Linked DNA regions of Homo sapiens: regions 1, 2, 3, 4, 5 and 6 are each linked to region 7. The links are contacts of gene promoters, found by promoter capture Hi-C in blood cells and fetal thymus (Javierre and others, 2016). All regions are on one chromosome and are shown on one strand. The core of a region is centred on a gene start or on the middle of the fragment in contact, and the rest is flanking DNA. Distances in the headings are between cores, read along the strand shown.

Region 1 (2,700 bases), core at 160-2,659, 600 kb before region 7:
AATAAATAGATTACTTCAGGATAAAGACTCATTTTTATATATTGCTGGATTATTTGCTAATAATGAGTTGAGGATTTTGCATCTAGGTTCATATGGGATATTGGTCTGTTTGCTTTTCTTGTAATGGCCTTATGTGGTCTTAGGGTCAAGGTAATGTTGAACTCATAAAAGGAATTGCAAAGTGTTCTCTCCTCTTCTATTTTCTTTAAGAGTTTGTGTAGAATTGGTATTAAGTCTTCCTTAAATGTTTGGTAGCATTTAATAGACATATGACAATTTGGTTTACCTATTTAATCTTGAGTGAACTTTGGCAGTTTGAGTCTTTCAAGGAATTTTCCCATTAAATCTAAATTGTCAAATTTATGAGCATAAAACTGTTTGTAATATTTCATATTTACTTTTTTCTTTCTTTCTTTTTTTTTTTTTTTTTGAGATGGAGTCTCACTCTGTCACCCGGGCTGGAGTACAATGGCGTGATCGTGGCTCACTGCAATCTCCACGTCCTGTGTTCAAGTGATTCTTCTGCCTCAGCCTCCCAAGTAAGTGGGATTACAGGTGTCTGCCACCATGCCCGGCTATTTTTTTTGTATTTTTAGAAGAGATGGCATTTCACTATTTTGGCCAGGCTGGTCTCAAACTCCTGACCTTGTGATCCACCCGCCTCGACCTCCCAAAGTGCTAGGATCACAGGCGTGAGCCACCGTGCCCAGCTGTAATATTTCCTTAATATCTTTTTCATGTCTATAGGGTCTGGGGTGGTGTTCCCACTTTCATTGCTAATGTTGTAATTTGTATCTTCTCTTTTTTTCCTGATCACTCTAGCTTGAAGCTTTTCAAATTTATTGATATTTTCAAATAACCAGTTTTTGCTTTCACTGATTTTTCTCTGATGTTCTGTTTTCATTTCTGCTGATGTCCACTCACTATTGTTTCTTTTCTCCTGCTTGCTTTGGATCTGCTCTTCTTTTTTGAATTAATTAAGGTGAAAGTTTAGCTAACTGATTTCAGACTTTTCTTCTACCTTAACATAAGCATTTAATATTCTAAGTTTTCCTCTAAACACTGTTTTAGCAAGAATCCATAAATGTTAATATGTTTAGTTTTCATTTTCTTTCAGTTAGAAACAGCCTCTAAATTCCCTTGTGATTTTCTATTTAACTCACAGGTTAATTTAATATTTGTGGATTTTCCAGATAGCTCTTTGTTACTGGCTTTTGGATTGATATTATGGTCAGAGAACATGCTTTGTGTGAGTTCAATTCCTTTAAATTAGTTAAGGTTTATTTCATGGTCCAGAACATGATATGTCTTGGTAAATGTCCAATATGCACTTGAATAGAATGTGTATTCTGCTGTTGCTGGGTGGAATGTTCTATAAATGTCAGCTGAGTCAAACCAGTTAACAGTGTTCAGGTGTCCTATATCCTTCATGATTTTCTATTTATTCTCTCAATTACTGAAAGAGGGGCCAGGAACAGTAGACTATGCCTGTAATCGCAGCATTTTGGGAGGCCAAAGCAGGAGGTTCACTTGAACCCAGGAGTTCAAGACCAGCCTGGGTAACATGACAAGAGCCCGTCTCTACAAAAATAAAAAAATTAGTGGCCGGGTGCGGTGGCCCACGCCTGTAATCCCAGCACTTTGGGAGGCCGAGGCGGGCGGATCACGAGGTCAGGAGATCGAGACCATCCTGGCTAACACGGTGAAACCATGTCTCTACTAAAAATACCAAAAATTAGCCGGGTGAGGTGGCGGGCACCTGTAGTCCCAGCTACTCAGGAGGCTGAGGCAGGAGAATGGCGTGAACCCGGGAGGTGGAGCTTGCAGTGAGCCGAGATCACGCCACTGCACTCCAGCCTGGGCGACAGAGCGAGACTCTGTCTCAAAAAAAAAAAAAATTAGCTAGGTGTGGTGGCATGTACCTATAGTCCCAGCTGCTCGGGAGGCTGAGGCAGAAGGATCACTTGAGCCCAGGAGGTTGAAGCTTCAGTGAGCCATGTTTGTGCCACTGCACTCCAGCGTGGGTGACAGAGCAAGACCCTGACTAAAAACAACAACAAAATACTGAAAGAGGAGGGTGAAAGTCTCTAACTGTAAGAAATTGTTTTACCTTTCATTTCTGTTAGTTTTTGCTTCATGTGTTTTGAAATTCTATTGTTAGGTGAATACACAATTTGGATTGTTTTGCCTTCTTTTATTATTGAGTAATGTCTCTCATTATCCCTGTTGATATTTGTTTTGAATATACATTGCCTGATATTAACACAACTACTCCATCTTTCTTTTGATTAGGGTTTCTGTGATATATTTTCCCCATCCTTTTACTTGTTTGTTCTGAGATGCAGTCTGGCTCTGCTGCCCAGGCTAGAGTGCAGTGGTGTGATCTTGGCTCACTGCAACCTCCCCATCCTGGGTTCAAGTGATTCTCCTGCCTCAGCCTCCTGAGTAGCTGGGATTACAGGTGCACGCCACCATGCCCGACTAATTTTTGTATTTTTAGTAGAGATGGGGTTTCACCATGTTGACCAGGCTGGTCTTGAACTCCTGACCTCAAGTGATCTGCCTGCCTCAGCCTCCCAAAGTGCTGGGATTACAGGAATGAGCCATCACTCCCGGCCTGTTGATTGTCTTTTTGTATTAGGTCATTCTTGCACTGCTATAAAGAAATACCTGAGACGGGGTCATTTATAAAGAAAGGCT
Region 2 (2,700 bases), core at 67-2,566, 670 kb before region 7:
GGCTGGCTCACACCTGCACTGTCCTGACCTGCTCGGAGGCGGCTATGGCCCTCCAGGCCGCAGGGGTGCCGTCCGCTGCTTGTCTTCAGAAAGCAAAGTAGCAAAACGTTCCACGGTGGGAGGAAGAAGAAAAACAGACACAGTGTCTACCAACATATACCTATTTCTCCTCCTCAACTCCCCATGCCCACTGCTCAGGTTCTGTTCACAGAAACAGCTTGAGGACGGCTCGCTGCAGCAGCCTCAGGCAGGAATACTAAGGCCACCATGATGGGCCCATCATAGAAAGACCCATGATGGCAGCTTACCCGGAGTGCAAAACGGAAAGGATCAAAAGACCCATCACAGCTTACCTGGAGTGAAAAACAGGATCAAAACAAAGGCTGGGGACACGGGAAGAGGTGGCTGGAGAGGGCAGGGCACCCTAGAGAACGGCCTGAGTTGCGTCCCTGCAACTGTGCACCAAGCATGCCTGAGTGGGAGGCTGCAAACAGCAGCGGGCACCCGAGGGACCCCCAGCTCCCCCGTATGGCTGTTTCCACAGACTCTCACTTATCCTTCTCATCTGCCCCTGGCCTAGTCCCGTCCTCTCCTTTGGGGCCGATCCAGCTCCACCAGGCGACCCCACACTGGAAATCTTCTGGCTTGGTCTGCAGGGTGTGGGCAGACCTGCTTGGCTTCCCTGCAGTTAAGCAGGGAGCGGGGGCACAGGCTCTGAGCAGGAACCGGCCTCCCAGTCCCAGGGCGAGGCCACAGCCACTCATGAGCACCCACATCCGGCACCAAGGAGACGGTCGCACACACACACGCAGACACACGCACACGGGCAGGTGTGTGCGGGGCTTGCCAAGGCTTGAAAACCTGACTGCCAGCAGGAAGGGTGCGGCCTGGAGGCCCGGGCTTCACCCACAGCCACACCTTGCCCACCCCAGGGTGCAGCCCAGAAGCTTCTACCTGGGTGACTGGCCAGGGGTTTTCCTGATGTTTCCTTTACACACGACTGGGCATCTTGTTTTGTGTTTCTTTCTCTTCTGTATCACTATGACCCCAGCAAGTGGGCGAGGGGTTTCTGGGTCTGGCCTGTGTCAGCCACCATCCAGGTTCTGGTGTACACACATCAGGCCGTGCCTGTCATCGGCCAGGCCTTCCTACGTCCCAGCCCACTCAGCACGCAGCACCGGTGACGCCGGCGGGACGGTGAGAGAAACAACACCGAAGCCGCTCCCTCGAGGAACCTGAAGTACCACCTTCCCTCGAGTGGCCAGCCCTGCAGGCGGAGGCCACGACCGCTTAGAGGAACAAACTGGGACCGGACTCCCGGGCAGGGATGGGGAGAACAGAGGGGAGGACTCCATTTAGGTTTCTGCTCCTTCAGCCAAGAACCTTTCAGTGACCCTGGGAGGCTGCAAGAGCAGGACAGAGCCCCACAGGTGAGCCGACCATCCCACCGGCCTGGGGGCGTCAGGCCCACCGCTCCCGAGGTCTACCAGGGACACACAGCCTGCCTCTGTCTGATCGCACCTGGGGGGCTGCTGTCCACTCCCTGTGGACGAGGGGGGCCGAGGGGTGAGCAGTCCCAAGGTGGCAGGAGAGGCACCACAGCGGGGGTGGCGGGCCTACCTGCAGCTCCTTGTCCGAGTACTTCTGAGGATTCTTGCTGCCCTGGCTCTTCTTCCGAAGCTTCTTCAGCTCAGCCTGACACTTGTCCAGGGCGTCGCCTTTGCTCCTTTGCTCAGTCTGGTATTTCTTCAGCGCAGCCTGAGATTCAAACAATAAAACACAAAACCAAGGCCCATGAACCCAACGCAGCGCGGACCACTGGCAGCAAAACCGAGGCCCATGAGCCCAACGCAACGGGGTCCCCTTGCCAGCCCTGCCACTCCCTTCCTGGCTCGCTCTCTGGCCGTGCATGCTCAGCTGCAAATCAGAGTTGGGGAGAGCCCAAATGAAGCCTCAGCCCGACCCCACCCAACCCCATAGCAGCTCTCTGGTCGCCCAAGATGAAAATCACACTTGGAAAAAGTGGCCGAGGCCCACCCCTCCCGCCCACCACTGAGAGCCAGAGGTGACCCTCAAACCCTCAAGCAGTGCCTCAGCCCCAAGCCTTCCTGCCAGCGGACAGGAGTGGCGGTGGGGCAGGACGGGCCGAGAGCCCAGGGAACTGCAGAGGCCAGAGAAGGAGCTCCTGCACTCCCCGGCAGCAGAGTCAGGCACCAGCTTCACCGCAAGTGGCCAAAGCCGGGGCATGGAACCAGGCATGTGGGGCGTCAGAGGCAACGGATTCACCCACAGGTTGCATTTGGGGCACACCAGGGGCACTCGGTCCCAAATGGACAATAAAGTCAGAGCTGGGGCCCATGTGGACGGGGAGCTCGGGGAAGTGGGAAGCCTTCAGGCCGAGGAAGGAGTGGCAGGCATTTGGGAGAGCCGGAGCCCAGGCACAGGGCCCAGCAGGCACGGCCAGGGTGCACTTACACTCAGATACCTGGAGTCCAGCTCCACCTTCTGCTCCAGCTGCGTAAGCAGCTCGTTGTGAAAAGACTTCAGCTGGACATGGAGAGAAAACACATCAGCCGTCAGCTCCAACACATGGACCCGGAACAGGAGGCAGGGCAGGGCTAGAGCGGATGGGCACGAGACACCGGGTGTCCCGGCTGTGCAGGAGGGGCCCCCTCCCCCTGACTGATGAGCTGTGGCCCC
Region 3 (2,700 bases), core at 46-2,545, 540 kb before region 7:
AATTAAACTTCCAACCTCTCTCTGTTTCCTAAAAAGGAAAGCAAAGCACATTTTGGCAAGGACTCCTCACTGGCTGCGTCTCAGAACTTCTAATGAGCTATGGGACGAGTCCAGGAGGGGTCATCTGGCTCCCTCGGGGGCTCTAAGTGCTGGAGAAGCGGGGGCGGGGGCGATGGCACCTGCCAGGGACGCAGGAGGAAAAGGGCCACGAGAGGGAGAGCGCTTTCCACGCACGATGGGCGGTGCTGGGTTGTGCACTCCAGGAGGAAACACAGGCGTGGGGATGATGGGGCCAGACCCCTGCGAGGGGCAGAGCCGGCTCTGGGAGCACCTGCTGCGCTCTGTGCCTCCACCCACCTCTGCAGGAACAGCACCTGCCCCGCAGGCCACCTGGGCCTCTAAGCCCCCACTGGTGACCAGACCCTGAGGATCAGGGTGTCCACGCTGTGCCCTGAGGGCTACGTCTCGTGTGGAGCCACAGCTCCAGACAGGTGCAAGACCCCCCCACCCCAAAGAAGGTGCCATGAAAGCTGCTGGTGCCTCGAGGGATCCACGGTCACGTCAGAGGGGAGGCTGCCCACACGGGAAGGCCTGGGCCAGGTTCTCGGGCTGCTGCTGCCCAGAGCAACCACAGCAGCTTCGAGCAGCTGAGGGTGCCCAGGCCTCCCCTCTGCTGGGCCTGCTCCACACCGCCCTCTACGGCAGCAGGGCTGAGCCATCCCTCCTGACACCAGATGGCCTGCCCGGGAGAGAGGCTGGGTATGGCCTCTGTGCCACACCTCTCCCTGGGGACCCAGAGGAAGGGAATACTGGCTCTAAAGCCACCTCAGGCGCTGCCCCTCACAGTATCTGTGGTCTCGCCTCTGCTCCAAATGAAGTCAATGCAGTTAGATTTCTGCTGAGCGCGGCCTGCTTAGGTCTCTACCACTTTTCCAGGCTGTCTTGGGCAAAACCAATGTACTCCGCTTTTTGTCAAAACTGAAAATAGCAGATGCTTTAAGAAGCAAAGAGGCTTCTGGCCGGGCGCAGTGGCTCACGCCTGTAATCCCAGCACTTTGGGAGGCTGAGGTGGGCGGATCACGAGGTCAGGAGATAGAGACCATTCTGGCTAACACGTGAAACGCCGTCTCCACTAAAAATACAAAAAAAAAATTAGCTGGGCGTGGTGGTGGGCGCTTGTAGTCCCAGCTACTCGGGAGGCTGAGGCAGAAGAATGGCATGAACCCAGGAGGCGGAGCTTGCAGTGAGCCGAGATCGCGCCACTGCACTCCAGCCTGGGCGACAAGGCAAGACTCTGTCTCAAAAAAAAAAAAAAAAAAAAAAAGAAACAAAAATCTTCTGTCTTCTGTAGCGGCTCACACCTATAATCCCAGTGCTTTGGGAGGCCAAGGCAGGAAGATTGCCGGAGCCAGGAATTCGAGACCAGCTTGGGCAAATACTGAGACCCCTGTTTCTACAAAAAGTTAAAAAAATTAGCCAGGCGTGTGGGTGCATGCCTGTAGTCCCAGCTACTTGGTGGTGGGGGGGGGGGGTGAGGTGGGAGGATCACTTGGACCAGGAGGTTGAGGCTGCAGTGAGCTGTGATTGCACGACTGCACTCCAGCCTGGGTGACGCAGGGTGACAGAGTGAGACCCCATCTCAAAAGAAAAAAAAAAACGCCTCCAAATAATTAATCATTCTAATTTACAATTGGTCACCCTACTGATTTCTGACATTCCTTAATTTGCAGAGAGAAGACACTACTTGCAAACACTCAGAGCTGGCGCAGCCTGAGCCATACTGCAGCGCAGGGCTGGGTGTTGCAGTTCACCTTCATCCAGAGGCCTCAGGGAGCCCACGTCTCCTCCCAGCATTGTCCCGGCACTGTCCTCCCAGGCCCTGACTCCACCCCTGGGATGGCCAGGCCTCACCGCACACTTTGCTGGGTTCTGTGACGAGGACCAGCCCTGCACACACTGCCCCACAGGCCCAGGGCTTGGGGGACACCTGCATGGTTACCTGCACCTTCATCTCACGGTCTGTGTCCCAGATCCGGACGATCCGCACGTCTCCTGAGCTCATGAGGAGGCCGGTCTCCTGCTCCCAGTCCACCACCATCCCAGCTCCTGGAGAGATACAGTGGGACATGGCATCACCCCATGGGCCCTTGCCTTGGGCAGGCTTTGGGGCCTGCTCTGGGCAGCAATTTGGCCAGCAGCTACAAGGTACCCCTGCCACCATCGAGCCCATCTGGTGGGTCCATATGCCTCATATGAGCTCCCGCTAGGGACCCTGGTGTGCCCCACGTCCAGGCTGGGGTGACAATTCTGAGCTGGAACTCCCAAGTCCGGGCCGGGATGACAATTCTGAGCTGGAACTCCCAAGTCCAGGCTGGGGTGACAGTTCTAAGCTGGAACTCCCAAGTCCAGGCCGGGGTGACAATTCTAAGCTGGAACTCCCAAGTCCAGGCCGGGGTGACAGTTCTAAGCTGGAACTCCCAAGTCCAGGCCGGGGTGACAATTCTAAGCTGGAACTCCCAAGTCCAGGCCGGGGTGACAGTTCTAAGCTGGAACTCCCAAGTCCAGGCCGGGGTGACAATTCTAAGCTGGAACTCCCAAGTCCAGGCCGGGGTGACAGTTCTAAGCTGGAACTCCCAAGTCCAGGCCGGGGTGACAATTCTGAGCTGGAACTCCCAAGTCCAGGCTGGGGCGACAATTCTG
Region 4 (2,700 bases), core at 99-2,598, 810 kb before region 7:
TCAGGTGATCCGCCCACCTCAGTGTCCCAAAGTTCTGGAATTACAGGTGGGACCCACTGCGCCCGGCCGGCAGTTTCTTATAAACAATCATTTGATCCAGCAACCCCACTCCTGGGTATTTACACAAGAGAAATGAAAAGTTGTGTCCACACAGAAGCCGATGAGTGAATGTTTATGGCAGCGTCATTCATAATTGCCAAGCACCAGGAACAATCTCTGCGTCCTTCATTTGATGAATAAAACCATCAATAAATAAAACCATCTGAACCGGTGGTTCACACCGGTTACAGGATACCACTCAGCAATAAAGAGGAACCAGCATGAATCTCAAAATGCGAAGTGGTAGAAGCCAGACCCACAGGCGCGCTGCGCGACATCCCTTTTGTGTGACATTCTGGAAAAGGCTGCCTCTAGGGATGGAGAACAGAGAGAACTGAGCAGCCGCCACCAGCAGTCAGCAGGTACGGGATCCGGAGGGAGAATGTTCTGTAACTAAAGTTACACAACTCCACTGCACACCAAAAAATGTGGATTTTACTGAAACCAAACTTTTTATTTTACAGAGCACTGGACTTTTTAAAAAGCGGGGGCAGGGGAGACCAGTGTGCTGTGACTTTTAGGGGAAGGATGGCTTCCCTGGAGAGGACCTGGGCGGAATCCCCAGGGCTCCCGGAGAGAGGGGGAGTCACAGAGCGGCTACGCACGGGGCGCAGCGTTAAAACTTTGGAGAAGGAAAAAAAACAACAAAGCAGCGCGAAGGGAAGGAGGTCAGGGAGGTTAGCAAGGCGCCCACACGCCCTCGCAGTCGTACTGAGTAACGAGGGGAGTCGCGCACGTGGGTGGGGACAGAGCGGCCTAGGACACTGGGGGAGCCCCGGGCCGCGGGAGTGCGGCGGCCTGGGGGTGTCGGGGAGCCGAGCCGAGGCCGCGTGCTCCTCGCGCCCTCCCTGGTGTCTCCTCCCCAGGCCCTGCGTGCCCCGCCCACACCTGCCTTGCCCCGCCCACATCTGCCTCGCCCTACTCGCCCATCACACCCCCACCTCACGCCCCGCCCACAACCGCTGGGGCCCCGCCCCTGCCCGGCCAGCTCCTCCCGCCGCCCTCGGTCCCCCGCCCCCTATATGACCCGCCCCTTTCCAGCCGCGTCCAATCGGCCGCTCTCTGTAGTCGCGTCCCTCAGCCATCCGCCGCTCCTCCCACGCTTGAACTTCCCGAAGGACAGCCGAGCGGCCCAATGAGCTCCCGGGACGGCCTGAGCGGGAGCGTGAAGGGCCAATCCGGAGTCGGCGCGCGCAGGAAAGGCGGGCCGGCGTGACGGGCTGGGGAGGTGGTGCCAGGCTGGTTGCTAGCTGCCGCCGCTGCTCACCCCGGCCGTCCGGCCGCTTCATTGTCACCGGGCCTCGGGGCAGTGTTGGGGGTGGCGGGGCGCCAGGTCGCCGACCCGAGGTTTGGGCGCGACTGGTTCCGCATCCCCTCCCCGCCGGCCGAATCTGCAGGCCCCGCGCGCCAGGCAGGCTTCGCGGCTGCGCCCCCGGCCCGCGCAGGTGAGGGGGGCCCGGGCAAGGGAGGGGGTTGCAGGGCGCACGGAGGTTGGAGGGGTCCGGAGCCCGCGCAGGTGGGAGGCCCTGGTCCAGTGATGAAGTGATGGGGATCCGGGGCACGCACAGGTGAGTGGGGGGATCTGGTGCCCGCGCAATTGAAGGCGGGATCCGGGGGAAGTGAGGGGGATCCAGGGTGCGCACAGGTGAGGGAGGTCCGGGGCCCGCGCAGGTGAAGACAGGCTCGTGCCTGAGGGTGTGGGTCCCCACCTCCATCCCCTCCACCCTCTCCACCTCCCTCCACTCCCCTCCGGTCCCCAGGACAACATGGAGTCCAGTCCCGGCATCTCTGGCCCGGCTGCCTTAAGCCCTGGGGAAAATGGGGAGATGGGAGCTGCCCTGAGGACAAGTGGAGGGCTCTGCTCTGCGCGTGGGCTCTGGCCTCTCTGTCCAGGGTCAGGGTCAGGGTCAGGGTCAGCCCACCCTGGGAACCAGGTCCTGGCGCTGGTCATCAGTCCCCGCCCCTTCAGGTCCTGGGAGGGACACAGTTTTATCCAAGATGTAGTGGCCTCCCAGGCCTCCCTTCTTCTGGCTTGGAGGTTTCCATGGAGAGGCCCCGTTCGCCATCCCAGAGCCGCTTGCAAGTGTGGCTGGGAGAGCAGAGTCCTGGGCTCCAAGGGCTTGCATGGGTCCAGCCAGGGGTGGACAGTGCCCTGCAGGAGGAGGGTGTTAAGTTTCTTCCGCACAGCCGGAAGTGCATAACTGAGGACTGGGACCTGGTCAGTGGCAGGGTCAGCCTCTAGGGAGTAGGGGTATCCATCGCTCCGTGGAAGGGACCTTGGGGGACCTGCTGTGGGGTGCCGGGCTGAAGGAAGCCCAGGGTGACCTTGGGCGATAGGCTGGGTGCCTGCTGGCCTACTGGAGGCCACCGTGGCAGGGAGGTAATTCTCGAGGTTGGTCCCTGGCGCCAGCTTCTCCCGTTCATCTACGGGTTCAGCTGAGTGCCTTTCCCTGCAGGTGCTGGGGTTGCTCAGGAGCCACACAATTCATAAACCAACTGTGTGCGGCCACAGGAAGGGAGTCCGAGCCGGATGGGGAGTGAAGAGTGATGGGTGCTCAAGGAAGGCCTCTGAGTGCAGGGAGGGAGTGTCCTGAGACCTAG
Region 5 (2,700 bases), core at 155-2,654, 580 kb before region 7:
CTAAGGATGCTGTTCCCAAGCACCCAAAATCCCAGGGAGACCTACGGCAGCCCGCAACACGGGTCTGCACAGCCGAGAGCCCACAGTGACCCTTGGCAAGTGGAAAGCTGTGCTTGAAGAGAAACCGGAGCTGAGTCCTTAAAGAGAGGGGAGGGAGTGCCTTGGGGCTGGCAGGGTAGGTGGAAGGTGGACGATGGAGGCTGGGTCCAGCTGTCTTGCAGGCAGCTCGGGACGGTGCCCAGCGCTGTGCCCATCTTCTCTAGGGACAAATGTGCCCGTTGTTTCTTTTCACAGCTTATGGACTCAGATGCCAACGTAAGATTCCCTCTTTCATTTACATTCGCTTCTCTTTTAGTATAAAATTAACCTATTTCTGTTGCACAAAATTTAGAAAAGAAAGCATCCGAAAAAGCTAGCCCTGCTTTCATTTCGGGGTCTCTTTCGTGACACGTTTATCTCGTTACAAAAATGGACTATTCTTAACCCGCCCTGTCCCTGACATGCCAGGCGATTCCTCCTCCTACAGAAGCTAACTTTCACATGGGAAAAGGCACCACCACCGGCCCGGCTGTGCCCCGGGGGGTCAGTCTGGAGTCGCCGCAAACAAACGCGCCAAACACGGTGGTCCCGTACCCAGGCGCTGCGGAAGCCCGGCAGGACCCCGGCAGGACCCCGGCAGGCGTTCGGCGCACCTGTCGGCCGCTCCTCGGACCAGGGCAGACTTCCTTCCAGTCCTGGCCTGGATGGGGTGAGGGAGAGGGGATGCCCCGCGCTGCCTCGCGAAGCCGGCAGCACCGCCGGGGCTCCGGCCCAGGGCACCAGGAGGCAAATGAGCCGCGGGACGGGGGCGGGGGCAGCGACTCCGGGAGAGCCGGGACCTGCTCCCGCGGGCCCAGAGCCAGGGAAAGCCCAGCGCCGCGCGGACCCCACGGACGGGCCGCCAGGCTGTGGCCGAGCCCCGAACGCCGGCGTCGAATCCCGCAGTCACCAGCCGCGCCCACCCCGGCGGGGCTCGCAGAGGCGGACGCGCGGGCCCCGGGGAAGACGGCAGCCACGGCGCCGCGCAGGAGACCCCGGCCCGAGGCCCCGCGGGCGAGGAGGGACGCAGGGCGGAGAGACCGAGGGGCCCGGCTGCGCGCTGCGCCTCAGTTTCCCCATCCGAACGCGGGGGGCCGAGGGCGCGGGGCTCTTCCGGCCCCGCCGCCCGCCCCGGCCCCGTCGCCTGTCCCGGCCCCAGCCCTGACCCCGGGCCCGGGCCCTCACCAGGATGGCCTTGTCCTGCTCCGTGACGCGGCTCTGCTTCTTGCGGCCGAACAGGTTACCCATGGCGGCGCCCGCCCCTGGCCCGGGACCCACCAAGTCCAATCGCCACCGCCGCCCCGCGGCCACCGTAGCTCGGGTCCTCCCGCTACGGCGGCCGCGCCGGGCCAGGCGCCGCGGAACGCGAAGGCCGAGCGCCGCCTCCGGCCGCGCGCCGTTGCCGCGGGTTCGAAACCACAGCCCGCCGGTCTCGGCGACCGCCGCGAACACCGCGGCCTCCTTGGACCGGTACGGAGAAGTGGCACGGATACCTGGATGTTAGGGCCCGCGATGTTCGGGCCCGGGATGTTCTAAATGACGTGTTTCCGTGCACCCTTCCTGTGCAGGTGAAGGCAAAAATTTCTTATCTCCTAATTAGGTGGGATCCTTTTAGATTAACATAATTCAGTCTCCCCAGGCTTTCAGGAATCTTGTGCAGGAATCACTGTCCCACTGGCTCTGAACACAAAATGCCGCATTAATGATGTGATATCCAACGTTTTGCACTTTTTTTTTTTTTTTTTTTTTTAGATGGAGTCCTGCTCTGTCGCCCAGGGTGGAGTGCAGGGGCGCTATCTCGGCTCACTACAAACTCTGCCTCCCGGGTTCAAGTGATTTTCCTGCTTCAGCCTCCTGAGTAGCTGGGACTACAGGTGCCTGCTGCCACACCCGGCTAATGTTTGTTAGTAGAGACGGGGTTTCACCATATTGGCCAGGCTGGCCTTGAGCTCCTGACCTTCTGATCCACCCACCTCGGGCTCCCAAAGTGCTGGGATGACAGGCGTGAGCCGCCGCACCCGGCCCGCTTTGCACTTTAAAATGTTCCCTGAAATGCGACCAGCAGCGCCCTCCACCCAGCCTTTCAGCCCTGGGATCTTCCCTCTTCCACTGCGCTGCTCCCTGTCTGTAGATCAGTGCCAGGAGGAGACCAGCATGGCTGGGCTCAGCTTCTCCTTCCAAGGAATCGTGGCTGCGTCCCCCACAGAAGCATTCTTCCCTGGGGGGCTAAGAAACACATGAATGGGGATAAAGGGTAAAAGGGAGAAGCCACCCCGGTTCCCGCCTGAGTATCCTGACTGTGGTTCCTGAGCATTCACTAAGTGTCAAAGAAAAGCACTCAGCTGAGGATGGCTTGAGGCCAGGAGTTCAAGACCAGCCTGGCAACATAGCAAGACCCCCGTCTCTACAAAAAATATAACAAATAACATCAAAAGGAGAATAATTATCACCTGTTCCAAACCTCTGGACTCCAGAACCTTCACTGAGGTGAGGGGGCCCCTGAATTTTTGTGGGGTTCATCTCCCACCCTCTGATTTGTCTCACCAAGACATCTGAAGTACTTTTTTCCTTGGTGTCCATGGGGACGTTGAGGAAAAAAAAAAAAAAGACTTGCTACTCCCT
Region 6 (2,700 bases), core at 139-2,638, 620 kb before region 7:
GCTGTGGGGACAGCAGGCACGGGCAGGACACTCTCCCCCAAGCAGCCCACAACTCCACAAGCGCCACATCCCAGAACGCCTGGCCACATCCATCGGTAGACACGGACTTCATGCAGCCACCAACGGCACAGCAGGCATGGGACACCAAGCGAACGCTGGACGCCACCTGGAGCCAGCAGGCATGGGACGCTGAGCAAGCACCAGCAGAAGGGTTGTACACCCTGGAGCCAACAACCGGCAGGACAGTGCCTGGGGCCAAAGCCCACACAGGCTGGGCAGCCCAGAGGGCAGCATGACACGGCAGCCGGTCTTTGTGCCCTGGCCACCCCACCAAGGGGACCACATCAGCACTGCTCCTGGGAGACGTGCCCCCTGCTAAAGGCTGGCGGTGGCGAGGGCGGGTAACACAGACATGCACATGTAGAGAAAATGCAGGCCAGGTCTACTCAGTGACAGCAGACCCAGCCACCCTGCGGCAAGATGGTGCCCATGGGGGCCACCCCAGGAAGTATCCTTAAACACAAAGCACTGCATGCACGTGTGCACACACGGACACACATACACATGTACACGCGCACGGAGCTGGGTCCAGCACTGTGATTTCTCTCCTCCTCAGGTGCCGGGTCTGCTGCCCCCCCCACCCAGGAAGGCGACTCCAATGCCAGGAGGTGCCTGTCAGCAGGAGGTGCCTGTCAGAGACCACCCCCCACCGTCTCCAAATGGAGGGGATGGTGAGCTCTGCACACCCCAGGAAGAAGCTGGATGTGGCAGAGAGGAACAGCCAGGCCCGGGCAGCCGGGCACGGAGCAGAAAAGCCGGCAGTGTGCTCCCTGCCACCCAGCACATGACGCCCACCACCTGGCGCCAGCCCTTACCAATCACACCAGAGGCGGCAAACCCAACTGGCTCCTGGCTCCAGGAACCCTGTGGCACCCGTCTCCTCGAAGCACGGCTGCGGCCCCGCCAGGCTGGCTTCCCCACCAGCTGCTAGAGTGACCAGCCAGGGCCAAGAGCCTCGGCACAAGGAAGGCCATGGCCACGTCTGCAACAGGGACTCCTCCTCCTCCCCAGATGCTCTCTCAACCTCACATATTCTAGGACAGGCTGTGGGCCAATGGCACTATGCCCAGAGAAGGTGGTGGAGCCGCCACACTCCAGGTCATGGGTCACCTGGGAGCCAGGGCTTCTCTGCGGACACGAGACCTTGAGGAAAACACCCACCTGACATTCTCCTGGCATTCCAGGAGACACAGCCAGCCAGGGAGCCAGCCCCTCAGCACACAGGGATGCACGGGGCTTCCCCAAGAGGGCTGCAGCTTCAGTAGCCTTAATTCCAAAGGCCACCGGGGGAGGCAGATTCCAGCACTCCATCCCTCCATCTGGGCCACTACCCAGGGCAACCTGAGCAAGCGCTGGGCCCGGGCTCCTGTGGAGGAAGGGGTCTTCCGCGCCTTGCCCTCCCAACACCTGCAGGGCCCAGCCCACGCAGTGCCCCCAGAAGGTCTGAGATTATGTTCTCGGCAAACACCGGGAAGCCGTTCCACTCCCCTCCCCTTCATCTTCCATGAAATTCCCCGAGGACACAGCTCCCAAGGGAATGGAGCCACCAGAAAAGAGGTCAAAGTCTGCGTTACGGATTCTTACGGGGAAGAAAATCAAAACTGCACTTTTTATTCTCGCATTTTTAATCACCAAGGCCAAGGACAAGCGTCCTCCTTTGCCAAGGCAAACACCACTCAGAACTGCAGTTAAGGCGATGCAATGTCCAAACCAAACCAAACAGCTGAGCCGCATCGCGGGTGACACTAAGCAGGCCACAGCACAGCCGTTCCAAGAGGCACTGCCAGGGCTCTGCAAGCCGCCAACCCAGGCACAGGAGCGGCCCCGGGAAGGGATGCCAGAGGCAGCACCGTCCCAGGAGAGGACAGAGCTCAGCACTGCCTGGACCGGCTGGACCGGCCCAGGAGTGCACACCGGTGGCCTCAGCGGTCTCCTGACTATGTCTCCATGTGGGCTGAGTTTCTGCCTGGCTGACATTGCCAAAAGCTGCCCAACCAGTACCGGCACTACCAAGGCACCTTGAGCTCCCCAGTGACAAAGCACAAAAAGGTCTCAAAGACTCAGCAGTCAGGCTCCCGGAGTGGCAGCAGGAGCCACCTACCTACAAAACCAACCCCGCCTGTGTGCAGCAGCAGCAGCGCAAGCCTGTCACCAGGGCAAAGCCTTTCCAGAGTGGATCGACCCTTCAGACACCTGCGGCCCACCGCGTCCTGCCGTGCTAAATCAAATCATCAACCGCCACATCTTCACTTGGGAAAATCACCAATTAACCCACCCGTGGAAGACAAAACGCAGAACCTGTGTGTTTCACGTGCTCCAGACCAGCTGGTCTGCGTCCACAGGGGCTCAAAGTCCCCAAACACTCAGTCCTAAGAGTTTTCCTGCCAGCAGATTTCACTTAGACCTGCAGATAAATTACAGCTTCACCTAGGTGAAGGCCTACTGCCCGGTTAGGAGAGTTTTATTAAGGACGATCACGGGGTCGGTCCCCCAGAGCAAAACCACTCCATGTACTCACCCCCTGCCAACTCTCACCACGAAAGTTCCTGCTTTCTGGTTTCAGCGCAGAAGGAGAAAAAATAGGAAAAAGGTTCCGCTGGTACTTCTCTTCCACCCTCTGCAATCACAAACAAGTCGTAA
Region 7 (2,700 bases), core at 193-2,692:
AACATTTGAGCCAGGGCACCCATGAAAATGCTGCTCAGGAACCCACAGGAGTGATGGTGGCACAGCCAGGGAAGGAGCAGAGGGGAAACAGACAAGGGGACAGATTCCAGCGACATTTAAGAGGCAGAATAAAAGCGAGCTAGTGTGCAACTGGACGCGAGAGGAACGGAGGGGCCCAGGAGGATGCAGATCTCCAGCTTGGGCAACTGGGAGCGTGGTGGACAGGTCACTGAGATGAAGAACCCAAGATAACAATCAGACTTGAAGATAAAGCTCATGAGCTGATTCTTAATAGTCACAGAATTCCCTTAATTTTTGCCTTTTTTTCCCTTCCAAGACTCCCCAGACTTTTTTTTTTTTTTTTTTTTTTTGAGATGGAGTTTCGCTCTTGTTGCCGAGGCTGGAGTGCAATGGCGTGATGTTGGCTCACCGCAACCTCCGCCTCCCGGGTTCAAGCGATTCTCCCGCCTCAGCCTTCCGAGTAGCTGGGATTACAGGTATATGCCACCACACCCGTCTAATTTTGTATTTTTAGTAGAGACCGGGTTTCTCCATGTTGGTCAGGCTGGTCTCGAACTCCCGACCTCAGGTGATTCCCCCGCCTCAGCCTCCCAAAGTGCTGGGATTGCAGGCGTGAGCCACCGCGCCCGGCCAACTCCCCAGACTATTAATGACATCCTACAAAACGAGAAGCCGGGTTCTACGCTTGCACTGCTCCCTGTCCCGGAGACCGCACGCCCGAGCCCACCGAGGGGCCCGCCTCGAGCTCGGCGTCCTCCCAGGTTACCTCGAGCTCAGGGAAGCTGAGCACCACCAGGGAAGCACAAGCGCGGACACTGTCCCCTTTCACGAAGGACACGTCAACGCCCCCGACCCTCTGCAGACCCGAGAAGGCGGGGTCTCGCTGCCACGCCTCGGTGTCCCGGTCTACGACGTGGGCCTTCAGCCGAGCTTGCTCCCTAGGAGGACAGAAGCGTCAAACTTGGTCGGGGTCACACCTCAGACTCTGCCTCCTCCACCCGCGCGGCTGCAGCGGACAGAGCGCCTCTGCCGGGTCTTCTCCCGCTTCAAGGGAAAGCAAGGGACATACCGCCGAGGCCACAGTCCCTAGGAGCCCAGGCGGCGGAGACCCGCGCAAGCGCAGGCCAGACAAACTGGCCGGAAGCGAGAACCGCGCCCACCCCGCGGACTACAATTCCTGAGATCCCTCCGCTTCCGCGCCGGAAACTGGGCTTTGCTTTGGAGTCTCGGGCGGTGGCAGCTCCGATTCCACAGCCTGAAGACTATGAGCTCGGAGGGTCCGCGAAGGGCCGCCCGGCCTCGGCCCCCGCCTCCTGCGCGTCGCCTGACAGCATTACCGTTTCCACAGTGACAGCGTTTCCTCCGGCGGCCCTCCCGCCGCCTCCAGGGCCATGGCTTCGTCCCGGGCACCCCTTCCGCACGTCACTTCCGGAAGCGACTCGCTCTGACGCCGTCCGCCCTCGTTGCCATGGAGACGCTTGCGCTTTCCCGGGCCGCACTTCCCACCCGGGTCTTCAGAAGCCCGTGGCCGCTGGGTGAGCCCCTGCGTGAACGCACACGCACGCACACGGCTTCAGGTTGCCCCGCGGCGCCGCGCGCGATATCGGCTCGGATCCCGGGAGGCCGTCCGCCCCTTTTTCAGCGGATAGCTGAGGCCAGGTAAGTGACCGCGCGAGGACCCGGGAACTCCGTGACGCCCGTCCCGCCTCTGCTGTCCCCGCCGCAAGCGCTGCGCTCTGCACGGCGAGAGGGGCCTCTTGCCCTGTTGAGAGCCGGCGGGCACGGCACTTCTGCGCTTGGAAAAGGGTGGTCCAGCACTGCAGGTCCCACTCCTTGGCCCGGTCAGCGTCCGCCTTTGCTGAACCCCGAAAGGATTCACCAGGTCCAGGACAGCCCGGCAGTTGCCTCAGGAGCACTTACTGAGCGCCTGTCGTTGACGCCCCCACCTCGATGGCAGCTCAGGGGTGCCCTCAAGCTTTTGAGGGCAGGTGTCGTGTATTTAAATTCTTCACAGTTTAGCGGGCTGGACTCACGGGGGTGCTGCAGACTTGGACGGGGTTTCATCTGGGTCGGACCTTGCTGGGCAGAAAGCTTCTCCTACCAGACAAAGTACGGCGACCTTGGGGGGTCTTGGTTCTTACCTCGTGTTCCTCATTGAATGAGTGTTGGTTCAGTGCTCTCGCTGTGCCAGGTGTTGTGCGAAGTACTGTGAGGGAGAATATGTATTTATTTGTGGGGAGCCGACTTTAAACCGGTGGTTGGGAAAGGCCTGAGAGGCGATATTGAAGACACCTGAAGGGTGAGTGAAAGAGCACGGCGGGTGAGTGGAGCAGCTTTCTCGTGCAGGTCCCGGGGTGGGAAAGAGGTTGGTGTATTTGAAGCACTGAAAGGCAGCCACTGAAGCTGAAGTGTAGCAGTTTAACCCATGGTTTTATATTCTCCTGGGAGGATTCAGAAGGGTGTATGTGTGTATGTATATATAATAGCCTGAATATAAACGTCAAGGGTGTTAGGTTTTGAAGGGAAGGTGAAGGTTAAAGAATGACGCACAGTGAGATTGCCGGCGCGCGGGCGGCTCTACAGCAACACAGGTGTATTGCAAACACCTGTCGGGGGCCAGCTTAATGCCAGAGCCCACCAGCGATTACAGGCTGGGGTACTCATAGGCCTGGGCAGGAG

The links. The method cuts DNA at HindIII sites, captures the fragments that hold promoters and counts their contacts. A CHiCAGO score of 5 or more calls a contact.
Region 1: a contact is called between a fragment that was not itself captured here and the fragment with the promoter of ENDOV in region 7, in 3 of 17 cell types (naive CD4 T cells, activated CD4 T cells and total CD8 T cells). The highest score is 7.3, in naive CD4 T cells.
Region 2: a fragment that was not itself captured here is called in contact with the fragment with the promoter of ENDOV in region 7 in 2 of 17 cell types (activated CD4 T cells and naive CD4 T cells); the score reaches 8.1 in activated CD4 T cells.
Region 3: a fragment that was not itself captured here is called in contact with the fragment with the promoter of ENDOV in region 7 in 15 of 17 cell types (endothelial precursors, total CD4 T cells, naive CD4 T cells and 12 more); the score reaches 18.6 in endothelial precursors.
Region 4: the fragment with the promoter of CEP131 here is called in contact with the fragment with the promoter of ENDOV in region 7 in 12 of 17 cell types (naive CD8 T cells, non-activated CD4 T cells, activated CD4 T cells and 9 more); the score reaches 18.3 in naive CD8 T cells.
Region 5: a contact is called between the fragment with the promoter of CHMP6 here and the fragment with the promoter of ENDOV in region 7, in 17 of 17 cell types (naive CD4 T cells, naive CD8 T cells, endothelial precursors and 14 more). The highest score is 40.3, in naive CD4 T cells.
Region 6: a contact is called between a fragment that was not itself captured here and the fragment with the promoter of ENDOV in region 7, in 8 of 17 cell types (naive CD4 T cells, non-activated CD4 T cells, naive B cells and 5 more). The highest score is 8.8, in naive CD4 T cells.

What each region holds. Positions count from the first base shown.
Region 1 is chr17:81,013,999-81,016,698 of GRCh38, reverse strand. LOC124904077 (translation initiation factor IF-2-like) reads right to left here. Exons shown (of 1, transcript XM_047437254.1): 1 at 2,682-2,700. Among named protein-coding and RNA genes, the nearest start is that of BAIAP2-DT, 19 kb to the left of the region's middle. The HindIII fragment of the contact is 1,155 bases long and covers 832-1,986 here.
Region 2 is chr17:81,085,501-81,088,200 of GRCh38, reverse strand. BAIAP2 (BAR/IMD domain containing adaptor protein 2) reads right to left here. Exons shown (of 14, transcript NM_001144888.2): 5 at 2,476-2,547; 6 at 1,621-1,758. Among named protein-coding and RNA genes, the nearest start is that of MIR657, 39 kb to the left of the region's middle. The HindIII fragment of the contact is 733 bases long and covers 950-1,682 here.
Region 3 is chr17:80,957,030-80,959,729 of GRCh38, reverse strand. It overlaps RPTOR (regulatory associated protein of MTOR complex 1), which reads right to left. Exons shown (of 34, transcript NM_020761.3): 29 at 2,000-2,106. Among named protein-coding and RNA genes, the nearest start is that of CHMP6, 33 kb to the left of the region's middle. RefSeq lists an enhancer at 1-343. The HindIII fragment of the contact is 3,760 bases long and covers 1-2,700 here.
Region 4 is chr17:81,221,613-81,224,312 of GRCh38, reverse strand. CEP131 (centrosomal protein 131) reads left to right here and starts at 1,348. Exons shown (of 26, transcript NM_014984.4): 1 at 1,348-1,544. RefSeq lists silencers at 756-1,125, 1,286-1,615 and enhancers at 977-1,646, 1,647-2,316, 2,317-2,700. The HindIII fragment of the contact is 19,797 bases long and covers 1-2,700 here.
Region 5 is chr17:80,990,545-80,993,244 of GRCh38, reverse strand. It overlaps CHMP6 (charged multivesicular body protein 6), which reads right to left and starts at 1,404. Exons shown (of 8, transcript NM_024591.5): 1 at 1,264-1,404. The coding sequence starts at 1,326. RefSeq lists silencers at 702-891, 902-1,051, 1,182-1,511. The HindIII fragment of the contact is 12,121 bases long and covers 1-2,700 here.
Region 6 is chr17:81,036,840-81,039,539 of GRCh38, reverse strand. The region is part of intron 1 of BAIAP2 (BAR/IMD domain containing adaptor protein 2); the gene reads right to left. Among named protein-coding and RNA genes, the nearest start is that of BAIAP2, 3.0 kb to the right of the region's middle. RefSeq lists enhancers at 1-317, 1,974-2,526. The HindIII fragment of the contact is 3,155 bases long and covers 1-2,700 here.
Region 7 is chr17:80,413,909-80,416,608 of GRCh38, reverse strand. It overlaps ENDOV (endonuclease V), which reads right to left and starts at 1,442. Exons shown (of 10, transcript NM_173627.5): 1 at 1,359-1,442; 2 at 788-959. The coding sequence starts at 1,414. RNF213-AS1 (RNF213 antisense RNA 1) reads left to right here and starts at 1,441. Exons shown (of 2, transcript NR_029376.1): 1 at 1,441-1,680. RefSeq lists an enhancer at 920-1,009. The HindIII fragment of the contact is 3,926 bases long and covers 1-1,998 here.